Regions from separate parts of the Homo sapiens genome. Here all the other regions are linked to region 3. The links are contacts of gene promoters, found by promoter capture Hi-C in blood cells and fetal thymus (Javierre and others, 2016). All regions are on one chromosome and are shown on one strand. Each heading gives the region's core, a stretch centred on a gene start or on the middle of the fragment in contact. The rest is flanking DNA. Distances are from core to core; before and after follow the strand shown. Region 1 overlaps LAPTM4A-DT (LAPTM4A divergent transcript). Region 2 overlaps MATN3 (matrilin 3). Region 3 holds the start of SDC1 (syndecan 1). Region 4 has its middle 12 kb from the start of MATN3.

The links. Contacts are between HindIII fragments. The CHiCAGO score rates a contact against its expected background, and 5 or more counts as called.
Region 1: a contact is called between a fragment that was not itself captured here and the fragment with the promoter of SDC1 in region 3, in 1 of 17 cell types (M0 macrophages). The highest score is 5.6, in M0 macrophages.
Region 2: a contact is called between a fragment that was not itself captured here and the fragment with the promoter of SDC1 in region 3, in 1 of 17 cell types (M0 macrophages). The highest score is 5.3, in M0 macrophages.
Region 4: a contact is called between a fragment that was not itself captured here and the fragment with the promoter of SDC1 in region 3, in 1 of 17 cell types (M0 macrophages). The highest score is 5.5, in M0 macrophages.

Annotation. Positions count from the first base shown.
Region 1 is chr2:20,087,575-20,091,114 of GRCh38, reverse strand. All of the region lies in intron 2 of LAPTM4A-DT (LAPTM4A divergent transcript), which reads right to left. Among named protein-coding and RNA genes, the nearest start is that of LAPTM4A-DT, 37 kb to the right of the region's middle. The HindIII fragment of the contact is 2,440 bases long and covers 452-2,891 here.
Region 2 is chr2:19,998,646-20,002,275 of GRCh38, reverse strand. MATN3 (matrilin 3) reads left to right here. Exons shown (of 8, transcript NM_002381.5): 4 at 196-321; 5 at 1,710-1,835. It overlaps WDR35-DT (WDR35 divergent transcript), which reads right to left. Exons shown (of 3, transcript NR_110235.1): 2 at 2,999-3,070. Among named protein-coding and RNA genes, the nearest start is that of WDR35-DT, 10 kb to the right of the region's middle. The HindIII fragment of the contact is 3,780 bases long and covers 1-3,630 here.
Region 3 is chr2:20,223,477-20,226,913 of GRCh38, reverse strand. It overlaps SDC1 (syndecan 1), which reads left to right and starts at 1,784. Exons shown (of 5, transcript NM_002997.5): 1 at 1,784-2,112. The coding sequence starts at 2,047. RefSeq lists enhancers at 457-1,136, 1,137-1,816 and silencers at 1,368-1,747, 1,808-2,227, 2,268-2,327, 2,348-2,807, 3,218-3,417. The HindIII fragment of the contact is 9,225 bases long and covers 1-3,437 here.
Region 4 is chr2:20,023,285-20,026,450 of GRCh38, reverse strand. No RefSeq gene overlaps it. Among named protein-coding and RNA genes, the nearest start is that of MATN3, 12 kb to the right of the region's middle. The HindIII fragment of the contact is 7,557 bases long and covers 1-3,166 here.

The DNA of each region.
Region 1 (3,540 bases), core at 422-2,921, 140 kb after region 3:
GGTGGAGGCTTCAGTTGTCTTTTAGGGAAGATCCTTCTTTTTGCTTTTCTTCCTTCCTTGTCTCTCTCCCTTCCTTCTTCTTTCCTTCCTTCCTTCCTTTTTTTCCTGGCTTCTTTCCTTCCTCAGCAAAAAGGGCCCTTGAGTCCCACAAATGTAGTGTGACCATTGTCCTTGGGGGAAACTGTAGTTATTAACTCATAAAAGATTGTGTATAGACCCGTGTAATGAGGAATGTCTGAGTTGTCACCAAAGCTGCTGGGAATTTGTGTGGGGTAGGAGGTGGCGAGGGGTGTATGTGCAGGGACAATGTGGAAAGAAGGGAAGAAAAGAGCTTCCGAAGTGTGGAGGAGGAGGAGGGACAACCCTGGGCCTTCACGTGGCTTGTTCCTGGGGTGAGGCGGTCACTGCCCAGGCATTTCACACCGGCCGTTATGAGGGCTTCTCGAAAGCTTTTTCTTCAGGAAAATGAAAATACATAAACACCACAGATATGCTCACAGATAATTGTACTACATTGTTCGGAAGTAAAAGAACTGTTTCTAAAAAAATAAAAATATTATAAACACCACCTAATCAACACGTTGAAATTAATAGCTGAACTGTGTGAGTGCATACTGTCAGCAAGCTATGGACATGTTGCCCTCCATGAGCTGGCGCTCCAGTGTGCTTGGGGAGGCCATCCCAGGCGGAGAGGGCTTCTTTGAGGGGGTGCAGGCTGAACAGAGGGAGGAAGCCGAGGGGCTGCTTTCATGAGGCACTTGGTGGGAGGCAGGATCAGGAATAGCACTTTTCTTCCTCATTTACACGGAGGCAGAGCACCATCACTGCTCTGGCCATGGGGAGTGGACCTTGGCGGCTTTCAGGTGATCACATCACCGAGAGTCCTTCAGGAAACTTGAAGAGCAATGGGCACTGGCTGGGGAGGCCAGACCAAGAGAGGATACCAGGAGTGCCAGGACATCTGTGGTGGACCAATGGGCTCGGGAACTCTTGGGGTCCCCTTTTGAAGATGCCCAGAAAATAACCAAGAGGTCAAACACAGGCTGCAGAGGTACTGAGGGTCTGCCTCCTGCTAATAGGAACTCAGAGTCACTGATATTTGGGCTATCAGTTCAAAAGAATCTTTTCTGCTCTGTTCTGATAAAAACAGGCGCTAGCAGCTATCTCAAAAGGCCAACCTTATGTTCCACAAGAATGATGTTATCTGCAGGAGTGATTGGAAAAGTTGTGTATCTTGTGACCTCCGGAATAATGGCTGGCAATAATTTATGTCTACACCTTAGCAGAATTTAGGCTCCTCTCCTCCCCCTAACCTGGTGGTCTCTCATTAGCTTTACAAAGGTGGTTGAGTTTTGGGGGAAGGGCTATTATTTAAACTATAAATTATTGTCTTCCAAAGCTAGCCCTAAGCCTATGAATAATGAAGTCAGCTTGAAGGCAAGAGTGGGGTTGGTAGATCAGATCTCTGCCATTGCCATAATGTTCTCACTGTTATCATTTTTGCAAAGGTGGTTTTACTTCTACATACTCTCTAAAAGAATTCACCAGATCCTTGAAATTTATCCAGGGACTGCAGGTGAAGAACAACAAAGCTAGAGAAAAGGGTGTTTGGTAATCCTGATTCTAATGAAAAAATTAAACTTCATATTGAAGTTAATCTTGTTCAAAAGTTATCATGTCTTAGGGGAAGTAGTGCAAAATGCAGAAGTAGTTTAAACATCCATCAGAAGGGTCCTCACTCTACCAGGACAGGACATTTACTCCCCAGTCTGTGTGTGACACTTTCAGCTGCAATAAGAACTTCTTTCACCAGAGTAAATTCAACAAAGGTTTGTTTTTAAAAAAATACAAACAAACCCAGGCTATTTGATTCTAAAGCCTGTGGTTTTTTATCCCCCCATTATACCACAGGTACCAAACTAGACAGATGTTTAAGTTATTTAATAACTATGATTAAATTGTTGAACTATAATCAAAGGATGTAATTTAAAAAGAAAATTGTTGCATTCAAATTCCCAACACTATGCTGAAGCGAAAGTTAAGAAAAAGAACTTTGTATTCTGGTCAAGGAAGAGGGAGTTGGAGACAGGCAGCAACTAGAAACAAGGCAGTCAGTGATCAAAGGGGAGAACCTTAAATGCAGTCCAAGGACAGGACAGGCAGCCTGCATGGCTTTCTAGCAGAGACCATGGCTGGAGAAAGGAGGCTAGGGAAGGTTGGTAGGTGGGAGAAGCGTGTCACTTTAAGTGTGTCACTTCTTCCTACCAAGTCTGAGGTTTCCTGTCTGGGCCATAAAGGGGTAAGAACAGATCTTCCTAAAAGCCTTCCCAACTCTATGTTCCATGACTGTCCAAGGGAATAGCATAGGCAAAAGCTGTGAGGCTGGATTGAACCACAATGAATTAGTTGTTTGTCTAGGAGTCCTGTCCACTTAGAAAAGTAGATGCATTCCAGGAGATTACAGGGGAAAGGCTAAGACTCCTCAGATGCGAAAATGATTAACCTTGGTGCTGAAGACAGTGGGAGCCATTGTAGGTCCTAGAGGAAAGACGTAGGAACATGATTAATCCAAACAGCTAAGGATGGAATGAGGAGGGAATGGAAATCTGTACGTGCACTGTGTTGAGTATTTTCTATTTGCCTCTCTGCCCAGATCTATTCTATGCCCTGCTCTGTGCCAAGGACCCCCTGATGATTACATCAAGGGACTCTGTCTTAGTCTGTTTTCTTTTGCTGTGACAGAATACCACAGACTGGGTAATTTATAAAGAAAAGAAGTTAGGCCAGGCGCAGTGGCTCACGCGTGTAATCCCAGCACTTTGTGAGGCCAAGGCGGGCAAATCACCTGAGGTCAGTAGTTCAAGAATAGCTCTGCCAACATGGTGAAAGCTTGTCTCTACAAAAATACAAAGATTAATTGGGCATGATGGCGGGTGCCTGTAATCCCAGCTACTGGGGAGGCTGAGGCAGGATAATTGCTTGAACCCGGTTTCATGTGCGTCCGTGTGAAGAGACCACCAAACAGGCTTTGTGCGAGCAATAAAGCTTTTTAATCACCTGGGTGCAGGCAGGCTGAGTCCGAAAAGAGAGTTAGTGAAGGGAGATAGGGGTGGGGCTGTTTTATAGGATTTGGGTGGGTAGTGGAAAATTACAGTCAAAGGGGGTTTTTCTCTTACAGGCAGGGGTGGGGGTCACAGGGTGCTCAGTGGGGGAGGTTTTGAGCCAGGAGAAGGAATCTCACAAGTTTAATTGCTCAGTTAAGGTGGGGCAGGAACAAATCACAATGGGGGAATATCATCAGTTAAGGCAGGAACTGGCCATTTTCACTTCTTTTGTGATTCTTCACTTGCTTCGGGCCATCTGGACATATACGTGCAGGTCACAGGGGATATGATGGCTTAGCTTGGGCTCAGAGGCCTGACATTCCTGCCTTCTTATATTAATAAGAAAAATAACATAAAATAGTATTGAAGTGTTGGGGCAGCAAAAATCCTTGGAGGTGGTATGGAGAGATAATGGGCGATATTTCTCAGGGCGGGA
Region 2 (3,630 bases), core at 577-3,076, 220 kb after region 3:
GTCACAGGGTCTCTTAGTGAAAGAGCCAAGACCGGAGGGTTGGTTCCCAACTCCCAGCTGCCCCTCCCTTGTTTCATTAGCTCTGTGTGTGTGTGTGTGTGTGTGTGTGTGTGTATAACTGTAAGTGGCGTGGCCCACAATTATTTCTGCCATGCTCTGCATGCATTTACATTTGTCCCAATCATCTTTTGATAGCTCTTGATAGGTGTGCTCTTAACACCCACGGATGTGAGCACATCTGTGTGAATGACAGAAGTGGCTCTTATCATTGTGAGTGCTATGAAGGTTATACCTTGAATGAAGACAGGAAAACTTGTTCAGGTAAGTGAGGGAGGAGTCTTTACTATTGCTACTTAGCTCTCTGCCTACCTACCCGGTGATGGAAGGGCAGGTCACATTGACTGGGAAGTTGGTGTGTTTTCCTCTCTTGCCACCTTGAGCTTTTCCCATTTTTAAGTCTTATCCAAAATGTTAGAAATGGTAACATGTATGTATCTCGGCCCAAATACATAAATATGTTGCTCATTTCCTTCTCTGTAGCCAGCCTGAACAATCCTTCCCAAATGCTACAGACAATTCAGTAGGTTGAAATCACATAACAACCCACAAGTTACCTGTTGCTTACAAAGGGAAAGACAGTAACTTTATAGTGGAGAAACTGGCAGACATCACCTTAACTAAGTGATCAAAGTTAACATCATCAGTGATGACACATAGTGACATCATGTATGACCTGACATGCTGTGCTCAATACTGTGGACACAACAGCACACCTGTAGTATTCTTGCTAAAAATTCAGGATTATGAGGAAAGATTAGAAAAACCTGAGAGACACTCTCAGTTCACAAAATAGTTTTCCAGTACTTCTCAGAAACGTGAAAGTCATAAAAGACAAAGAAAGACTTAGGAAGTGTCCCAGGTTGGAGAGGACGGAGATGTGAAACTGAATGCAATGTGGAATCCTGGATTGGATCCTGGACCAGAAAAAGGACATTAATGGCAACATTTGAATAAAGTCTGTAGATTAGTAAATCATATTATATCAATGTTAATTTCTGGTTTGATAATCATACTATGGTTATGTAAATTACTGTTTGGGGAAACAGGGTGAAGTACAGGAATTTTTTGCACTGTTTTTGCAACCTTTTCATAAATCTGAAATTATCTCAGATGAAAAGTTTAAAAGTAAAAAATAGTTTAAAAATATATCAGTAGAGAGGAAAGTGCATTGAATGAAAATGTGTGTCTTGAGTTTTTATGCTGCTCTGAATCAAATGGTCTCCCTCGCGCTCCTTTCCCTCATTTAAAAAATAGGAGAGGGTTGAACTACAATTTCTTCAAACTCTAATTCTATGTTTTTCTGAATCTAATGTAATTAGCCACACAACTGTTGGTATCCCGCTGAGTTGGGATAAGTACAATAAGCCTAAAAGGAATGCTAGAAAGTATTTATGAGATACTTAGGTTATAAAAACTCAATACTGATGATTTCCAAAAGCAATTGTGGAAGGTCAGAGAATAATTATTGTATGTGCAGGATTTCACTTAACTCAGTTAACTTCTAGTTAGAAAAAAACAGTGCCAATGGCTTTGAATAGTTTCCAGTAAGTTTTCCTCATATGTTTCCAGCTGCAAATAAGGTTTCTATCCTGGGTAATAAAATACTTTTCCACCTTCTATTTCTTTTCTCCTGACTTTTTGTTTCACAGCTCAAGATAAATGTGCTTTGGGTACCCATGGGTGTCAGCACATTTGTGTGAATGACAGAACAGGGTCCCATCATTGTGAATGCTATGAGGGCTACACTCTGAATGCAGATAAAAAAACATGTTCAGGTAAGATCCACTCAAAAAATTCTTTCATACTTGGGTCTTTCACATGAAACCAACTTGCAACTCACCAGCAAAGAGGTTTTTAAAGGTAACTTAAGATCAAGGTTCAGACATTCTATCACACTTTTAGATGAAGGCACACATTGCTCAGAGGGTGGTGAGCTCACTGGAGCAAACATAGATTACTTCAGAAAATTACTGGGAAATAGGTAGGGAGTGGGGGATATGAGAAAAACTAACTAAATGTAGGGTCCTTATCCAGGAAAATTTTATAGCTCTGTACACTGAAGACTTTTAAGCAAAGAGAAAACTTTAGTGGAAGTCAGTTGGACAGTAACTATTTGGTGTGATAGGATGAACTGATCTTTTTCCAGTTAAAACTTGGCCTGGAACTTTTCTGTAGTGTTAATCTTAAAGCTGGATGATTTTAGTAAAGAAGACTTTGTGAATGCCTGAATTAGACCCACACAGATCTTCCAGTAAGTTTGAGGCCAGTCACTCCCTGGCAGTTTCTAGACGATCAATCATTGGTGAAACTCAGCCTTATACGTTGGCCAATGAGCCCAGGCCAGTGCTGTTAATCCTCATTAATTTGATTTAAACTTACTGGCAGGACAGGGTGGCATTTATAAATGTAAAAACACTCCTGAGAGAAATTCCAAGCTCTCAAGGTGCCGTTTAGCTTTGGCATATTGAATGTGTTTTAGATTTGACATATATTTTCCTCTCCCTTGAGGACATACAGACTTCATCAAGATAGACAAAGGGAAATGGCATGTCACCCAGTCCCCTCTTTTTTTTTTTTTTTTTTTTTTTTAAAGGGAAACCAGTAAAAAAATACCGGACACCTACTTTGTTCCCAGTATGGAACTAAGCATTGGGAGCATACAAAGAAGCCTAAGTTTCTGCCTCTGAGCAAGTTAAATCTGGGTGAACAGAGAGCCGGCTCCTTATGAAAGCAGAGACTGAGCCAGGGAGAGGGACTGATGGAAACAAAGGGCTGTAGAGGCTGGGGAGGTGGGCATCTGCGAAGGGCTGGTGGTGGGCCTTGAAGGAGGGTGAAGGTTTCAATGGAGACAAGTGGAAAGTGGCACTGGCGGGGGACTGGCTTGAGCTGATTTGTTCAGGGCAGGATGACTAAGAAAGTTGGGGTGGAGAGAACTCACCTATGGCTGCACTTCTCAAACTAGTGACAAGTGTCCCAGTTGGTACTTTAAGCTGCCAGGAACATTGAAGACCTGGGAAAACAAACCAAAAACAAATTTCCATTTAAACTAACAGATAGTATGGAATAAAGTGAAGCAATCTATTTTAAAAAAAAACATAAATCAAAGAAAATTTTCAGTTAAGGCAGACAACACTCCCAGATGCCAGTATTCCATATTCTTCAATACCTACTGTAGGCCATGCAGGATTCTAGGCATTTTAGATACAGTAATGTACCTTAATACTCACAGCAACGTTAGGAGGAAACTGATTCAGTAACTTGCCCATGGTTACTCTGCTAGCAAGTAGCAGACCCAGGGTTTGAACCCAGGTACTTCCTCTAGTGGTTACATAGGCTCTTAACCACTAAGCCTTACTGTCTTAATGTACAAAGCACAGGACAGTGAAGAGGGACAGAAGAGAAAGAATACTAGTGGGAAAGTTAGTTATATATATATATATTTTTTTTTCTTCTCTTTTTTGAGACAGGGTCTCATTCTGTCACCCAGGCTGGAGTGCGGTGGTGTGATCTTGGCTCATACAGCCTCTACCTCCCGGGCTCAAGTGATTCTCCCATCTCAGCCTCCTGAGT
Region 3 (3,437 bases), core at 535-3,034:
GCCTCAGCCTCCCGAGTAGCTGGGATTATAGGCACCTGCCACCATATCCGGCTAATTTTTGTATTTTTAGTAGAGATGGGGATTCACCGTGTTAGCCAGGCTGGTCGAGAACTCCTGACCTCAGGTGATCTGCCCGCCTCGGCCTCCCAAAGTGCTGGGGTTACAGGCGTGAGCCATCGCGCTTGGCCGTGAGTGACTTTTAAAAAATGAAAAGACTCCATCAAATCCTCCCTGACCCCAGTTTCCTCTGTTGTGAGCAGTAGAGAAAGGTAAGATTCCAAAATTCCTATTTTTCCACCATACTGGGTTGAAGGGATCTGTGGAGCCACCCTCTGGTAGAGGTAGAACCTTCGAAAAGGGCATTTTTAATCCACAGGGACTCCTCGAGCTCGGCTGGACCTCCGTGGTGCCGTGCTGTGAGACCATCCATCACTCAGGCACTCAGCGAGCCCACATCGGCCCCCAAGAACCCTGATGAAGGTCTTCCTGCCCCCTAGACAGACTTGGGGAGACGGACACCCCAAAAGCGAGAGCTCTTTGAGGTCAAACAGGTGCTCAGGAGCAGGGGTACAAGCAGGCCATCATCTTTTAGTGCTGTGAGGAGGAGTGGGGGGATGAGATGGGGACGCAGGAGGCTGCTCGGCTCCAGAGCCTGCTCCACGGTGGAAGGTGGAGGAGAGTCCAGGGTCCCACGGTCAGTCCCTGCGTGGCCCAGGAAGGTTTAATTCTTTTAAAGAGGAACACTGGACACTTCCCGATATTTTCTTGGTCCCCAGCTCAGGCCGACCCAAGTTCTTGCCTTCCGCCTAGGGAAGACAGGGGAGGACGACGCCATCTTTGGTCTCAGGGCCCAGGTGCGAAGGTCGTTTGGCACCATCTCTCCTGCCTGCCAGATGTGGGCAGGGCCCGTCCGGTTCTTCCCCTTTGCTCTCTCGGCCGTTTCCCCTACACCCGCAGGCCTTCCACAGCTTTTTGAACTGAGGCCCAGGGCCTCGCAGGGGATCTCGAAGGAGCAGCAACTGCACGGTGCTCCTCAGATCCGCGTGCCCGAGGTCACCGGGGAACAAAGAAGTTACTTATTTTTCCTTTTAGCTCAGATGAAGAGAGAGGGCGTTGTCTTCCACAGAAAAACGCTGCGAACTCCGCCCCCGTCCCCCTTTTTCTTGCAGCCCTTCCGTGCGGGTGCAGCTGTTTAAACTAAGGCCCCAAGTCTCCAGCACTTTGTGGAGTGCAGGAAGAACGCGAGCGTACGGGAGAATCTGGGCCGGCGGGGCGCAGCGAGCCGCATCGCAGCTGGAGGACAGCCGGGGTGTGTCTGTGTGTGTTTGCCCGTCGGTTGAAGGCCCCATCGCCCCCGGGTCCCCGCCCTGCCCCAGAAAGCGTTCCCCAAGAGAGCTAGGAGTCCTGCGCACCTGGAGCGCGCTCCGCGTCCACGCCCAGAGGGCGCTGCACACTCGCGCCCGAGGACTGCCTGCCCCCCTTCAGCCCCTCTCCCGGGCTGCGCCTCCGCACTCCGGGCCCGGGCAGAAGGGGGTGCGCCTCGGCCCCACCACCCAGGGAGCAGCCGAGCTGAAAGGCCGGGAACCGCGGCTTGCGGGGACCACAGCTCCCGAAAGCGACGTTCGGCCACCGGAGGAGCGGGAGCCAAGCAGGCAAGAACCTTAGGAGCGGGCCGGGGGTGGGGCGTTCCGAAGGGGCCGGGAGGGGTGGCTGGGGGGCGGGGTCCTGGGGGGTGTGGACTGGGGCTGGCCGGGAGACCTGGCGGAGCTGGGGGTGGGGGGCCAGTTTTTGCAACGGCTAAGGAAGGGCCTGTGGGTTTATTATAAGGCGGAGCTCGGCGGGAGAGGTGCGGGCCGAATCCGAGCCGAGCGGAGAGGAATCCGGCAGTAGAGAGCGGACTCCAGCCGGCGGACCCTGCAGCCCTCGCCTGGGACAGCGGCGCGCTGGGCAGGCGCCCAAGAGAGCATCGAGCAGCGGAACCCGCGAAGCCGGCCCGCAGCCGCGACCCGCGCAGCCTGCCGCTCTCCCGCCGCCGGTCCGGGCAGCATGAGGCGCGCGGCGCTCTGGCTCTGGCTGTGCGCGCTGGCGCTGAGCCTGCAGCCGGCCCTGCCGGTGAGTGCGGCCGGCGGCCAGGCGGGGAGGCGGCGGGAAGCCGGGACTGGTCACCCGCGGATGCCGGCGGGTGCACGTGGAGGGGGAGGGGGAGCGAAGACTTCCCTTCTTCCCGCGCTAGCCCAGCGGGTCCCGGGACGGTGAGCCCCGAGACCAGGGCTCCAGCCCCAATTTCCTCCGCTGTCGGTGGGTGCCGCACCGGTCCCGCGCTGGGGAGGGTGGGGGGCCGGGGCCCCGCGCTCAATTATGTAAAACGTCTCCACATCTGTCGGAGCCCGCCAGCCCACAGCGGCGCCCGGGGTCGCCCGTTCCCACCCTCCTCGCCCCGGCCACCGCGGCGGCCGGGCCCCCGTCGGTGACCCGGGGGGATGCAGTGACCGCGGCCACAACGCCCCCCCTGCAGACCCTAATTCAAACCAGACCCGCGGGCTTGCGCCCCAGCGCCGCCGAGCCCGGGCGCCCCGCCCCTTGCGCCAGGGCAAGTTTGGGCGCAGCGCGGCCGGCGCGGGAGCGGGAGGCGGCCGCGTTGGCCCGGGGAGCCGGGCCAGGGCTGCGTGGGGGGCGCGGGCGAGCGTCTGCAGGGCCCTCGGGCTTGCCGTGGGCGGCTCGAGGTGAGCTGAGCCGGCCCGGCAGCGGGAGGTTCCGGGAAGTTGGCCTCGGAACGCTGGAGACCCGGAGGAGCCCAACTTCTGGGCTGCTGAAGTTGAGCTGGCCCCGGAGGGCGCGTTCCCGTGCCGGGCACGGCCGAGGCGCAGGCGCCTTCCACGCGAGGGGACCCGGGAATGGCCTCCCGCTCCCCGGCTCGGCTTTGTGCTGAAGCCGCGCGGAGGGAAGGCGGGTCCCTTGGCCCGCCCAGTGCAGCTGGGAGAAAAGAGGGGCAGATGTGGAGCTCGGGGCTGTAAGAGGCCTTTGGGTGGGATGCAGCATCCACCTTCAGCGGGGCTGACGCTCCACTAAAGAGGGACGTGGCCGACAAAGAGCAGCCTGAGGGTCCCCAGAAAGTGGCTCTCCCGCCCCGGCCACCGGCCGCTAGCCCGCCTTCCCCAATGGGGGCGCTTTGTTCTCGGCCCCTGTAACCCTTTCCTGGGAACAGCCCCGTAACGCCGGCCTTGACGGGGGCTGGGACCTGGGCCGCAGCCAGGTGTCAGCGCGGGCCGCCCGGTGCCCGAGTCTGCCGCCCGAGTTCGCCTCCCCAGCCCCCGCGCCCGGTGCTGGCGTCCCGGGGTCCCTCCTGCGGGCCGGCTCGGCCATCCCCAGGGATGCAGAGGGGAGGTGCGGAGCCAGGGGCGCTTCCCCTTCCGGAAGTGGCGGTGTCTCGCCACTAC
Region 4 (3,166 bases), core at 658-3,157, 200 kb after region 3:
AGCACCTGTTGTTTCTTGGCTTTTTAATGATCACCATTCTAACTGGTGTGAGATGGTATCTCATTGTGGTTTTGATTTGCATTTCTCTGATGGCCAGTGATGGTGAGCATTTTTTCATGTGTTTTTTGGCTGCATAAATGTCTTCTTTTGAGAAGTGTCCGTTCATGTCCTTGGCCCACTTTTTGATGGGGTTGTTTTTTTCTTGTAAATTTGTTTGAGTTCATCGTAGATTCTGGATATTAGCCCTTTGTCAGATGAGTAGGTTGCGAAAATTTTCTCCCATTTTGTAGGTTGCCTTTTCACTCTGATGGTAGTTTTTTTTGCTGTGCAGAAGCTCTTTAGTTTAATTAGATCCCATTTGTCAATTTTGGCTTTTGTTGCCACTGCTTTTGGTGTTTTAGACATGAAGTCCTTGCCCATGCCTATGTCCTGAATGGTAATGCCTAGGTTTTCTTCTAGGGTTTTTATGGTTTTAGGTCTAACATTTAAGTCTTTAATCCATCTTGAATTAATTTTTGTATAAGGTGTAAGGAAGGGATCCAGTTTCAGCTTTCTACATATGGCTAGCCAGTTTTCCCAGCACCATTTATTAAATAGAGAATCCTTTCCCCATTGCTTGTTTTTCTCAGGTTTGTCAAAGATCAGATAGTTGTAGATATGCGGCGTTATTTCTGAGGGCTCTGTTCTGTAGAACAACTACAATTTAATAAAAGTTATCTGAATGTGGTTTCCCTCTCTGTATCTCTCTCAAAACATCTTATACTGTACCTACCTTTCTTCTTGTGATCTGTTGATCTGATAACCAAGATGATTACGAAGTGCCCAATAGGTGGGTAATACATGCAGGCAGCGTGGATGCACTGGACAAAGGAGTGAGTCATGTCCAGGGCAGTACAGAGCAGGACAGTGTGAGAGTTTATCATGCTACTCAGAATGGCATGCAATTTAAAACTTATAAATTATTTTTTTAAAGCCTATGGATTATTTACTTCTGGAATTTTCCATTCAGTATTTTTGGACTGTAGTCCCCCACAGATAACTGAAACTTTGAAAAGTAAAACCACAGATAACCGGGGACTAGTATATCTGTTATCATTTGGTTAGGTTGCATCAGAGAACTTGATTTATATTCCTGGCCCTCCCACCAATTATATGAATTCAGTAAGTAATTCAGATTGCAAATGAGATTGTACATTCCTTCTTCCTCTGACCTTCTGTGACTCACTTTTGGTTAAACAGTTAATTATCTTTTATTATTATTTTTTAGAGACAGGGTCTTTATCACCCAGGCTGTAGTGCAATGGTGCAATTATAGCTCACTGCAGCCTCAATTTCCTGTCCTCAAGCAATCCTCCCTCCTTGGTCTCCCAAAGTGCTGAGATTACAAGTGTGAGCCACCACATCCAGCCAGTTCATGATCTTTTAAAGATAAAAAGATAATTTAAAAAACTACATAGGTACCCTCTTAGTTACCATTTTTGGTGTTCTTCATTCCCTTGTGTAGATACATATTTCCATCTGGTATAATTTTTCTTCTTTCAGAAAGACTTTAACATTTTTTACAGTGTGGTTCTGCTGGTGATAAGTTCTTTTGGGTTTTGTATATCTAAAAATATTTTTACTCACTTTGGGAGGTTAAGGCGGGCAGATCATGAGGTCAGGAGTTTGAGACCAGACTGACCAACATGGTGAAACCCCATCTCTACTAAAAATACAAAAAGTAGCCGGGCATGGTGGTGCGGGCCTGTAATCCCAGCTACTCAGGAGGCTGAGGCAGGAGAATTGCTTGAACCCAGGAGGCGGAGGTTGCAGTGAGCCAAGATCGCTCCACTGCACTCCAGCCTGGGCAACAGAGCAAGACACCATCTCAAAAAAAAAAAAAATTACCTTTGTTTTTCAAAAGCTATCTTCCCTGGATGTAGAATTCTAAGTGGACCTTTTTTTGGTTTATTTTTGTTTTTTTTCTTTCAGCACTTTAAAGATATTGCTTCACTGTCTTCTTGAACACATTGTTTCTAATGAGAAATTTACTGTCATCCTTGACTTTCTCTGTATGGAACATTTTTTTTCTTTGGGTAATGAACATTTTCTCTTATAGCCCTGATTTTGAACAATTTGTTTATGATGTTCCTCGATGCTGGCTTTTTGTTTTTTCACATTTGTTGCATTTGAGGTTCATTGAGATTCTTAAATCTGTAGGTTTATAGATTTCATCATGTTTGGAAAAATTTCAGTCATTATCTCTTCAAATATTTTCTCTGTCCTCTCTTCTCCCTCCTTCAGGGATCCTGTCTGGCTGGAAAAGGGAAGATAAACTTCCTACAGTGAGCAGATTTGAGATAGGTCTTGAGAGTTGGTTAGGACTTGAACTGGTAGAGATGTCAATCAAAGACTTCGCAACTTAATATGAAAGGATCAAGAGAGGAAGGAGGTCATCAAGATTTCTTTCATGCCTGTCTGGCCAGAGGAATAGTGGAATAAATGGGGAATAAAGGACAGTGAGCTTTTTTAAAAAAGAGGAAGATGAGTTCATTCTTGGTTATGATTGAGCATGACGTACTTTTGTGACCTTTAAATAGAGGAGTACAAAAGCGAGTTACAAATGTAGTTTTATTGCTCAGGAGTAGGTTGGGACAAGAGACTCTGATCTGGAAATTAGCAATATAGAGGTGGTAGCTGAAACAACGCTGGTAGTTGAGACTCCTAACATAGATGGTACACAAAGTATCAAGACCTAGTCATTTCAGCCCTTCCATTTCTAGTAATTTCTTCTAGGGAGATAATAGTAATTCACAAAGATTCATGAAAAAAGGTTCAGTGAAGCACAGCTTGCAATTAAAAACAAGTAGAAACTACATGTCCCACAATGGAAAATTGGTTAAGTAAATGAAATATACAGTGAAATACAGTACAGTCATTACAAATGTTGTATTTGAAGAATATAACAGAAAAGTGTTCACTATATGTTAAGTACAGAAAGCAAGTTATAACCCTACAACATAGCATGGTCTCATTTTTAATAAAAATGGATGCATATATAAGCAGAGACAAAAGAGGTAACACCACATAGCTTATCTTTGGGTGGTAGTCTATGGATGGTCTTTCCATTCTTTTGCTTATCTACAGTTTCTACATTCTGTATAGTAAAGTATATGTTACTTTTATA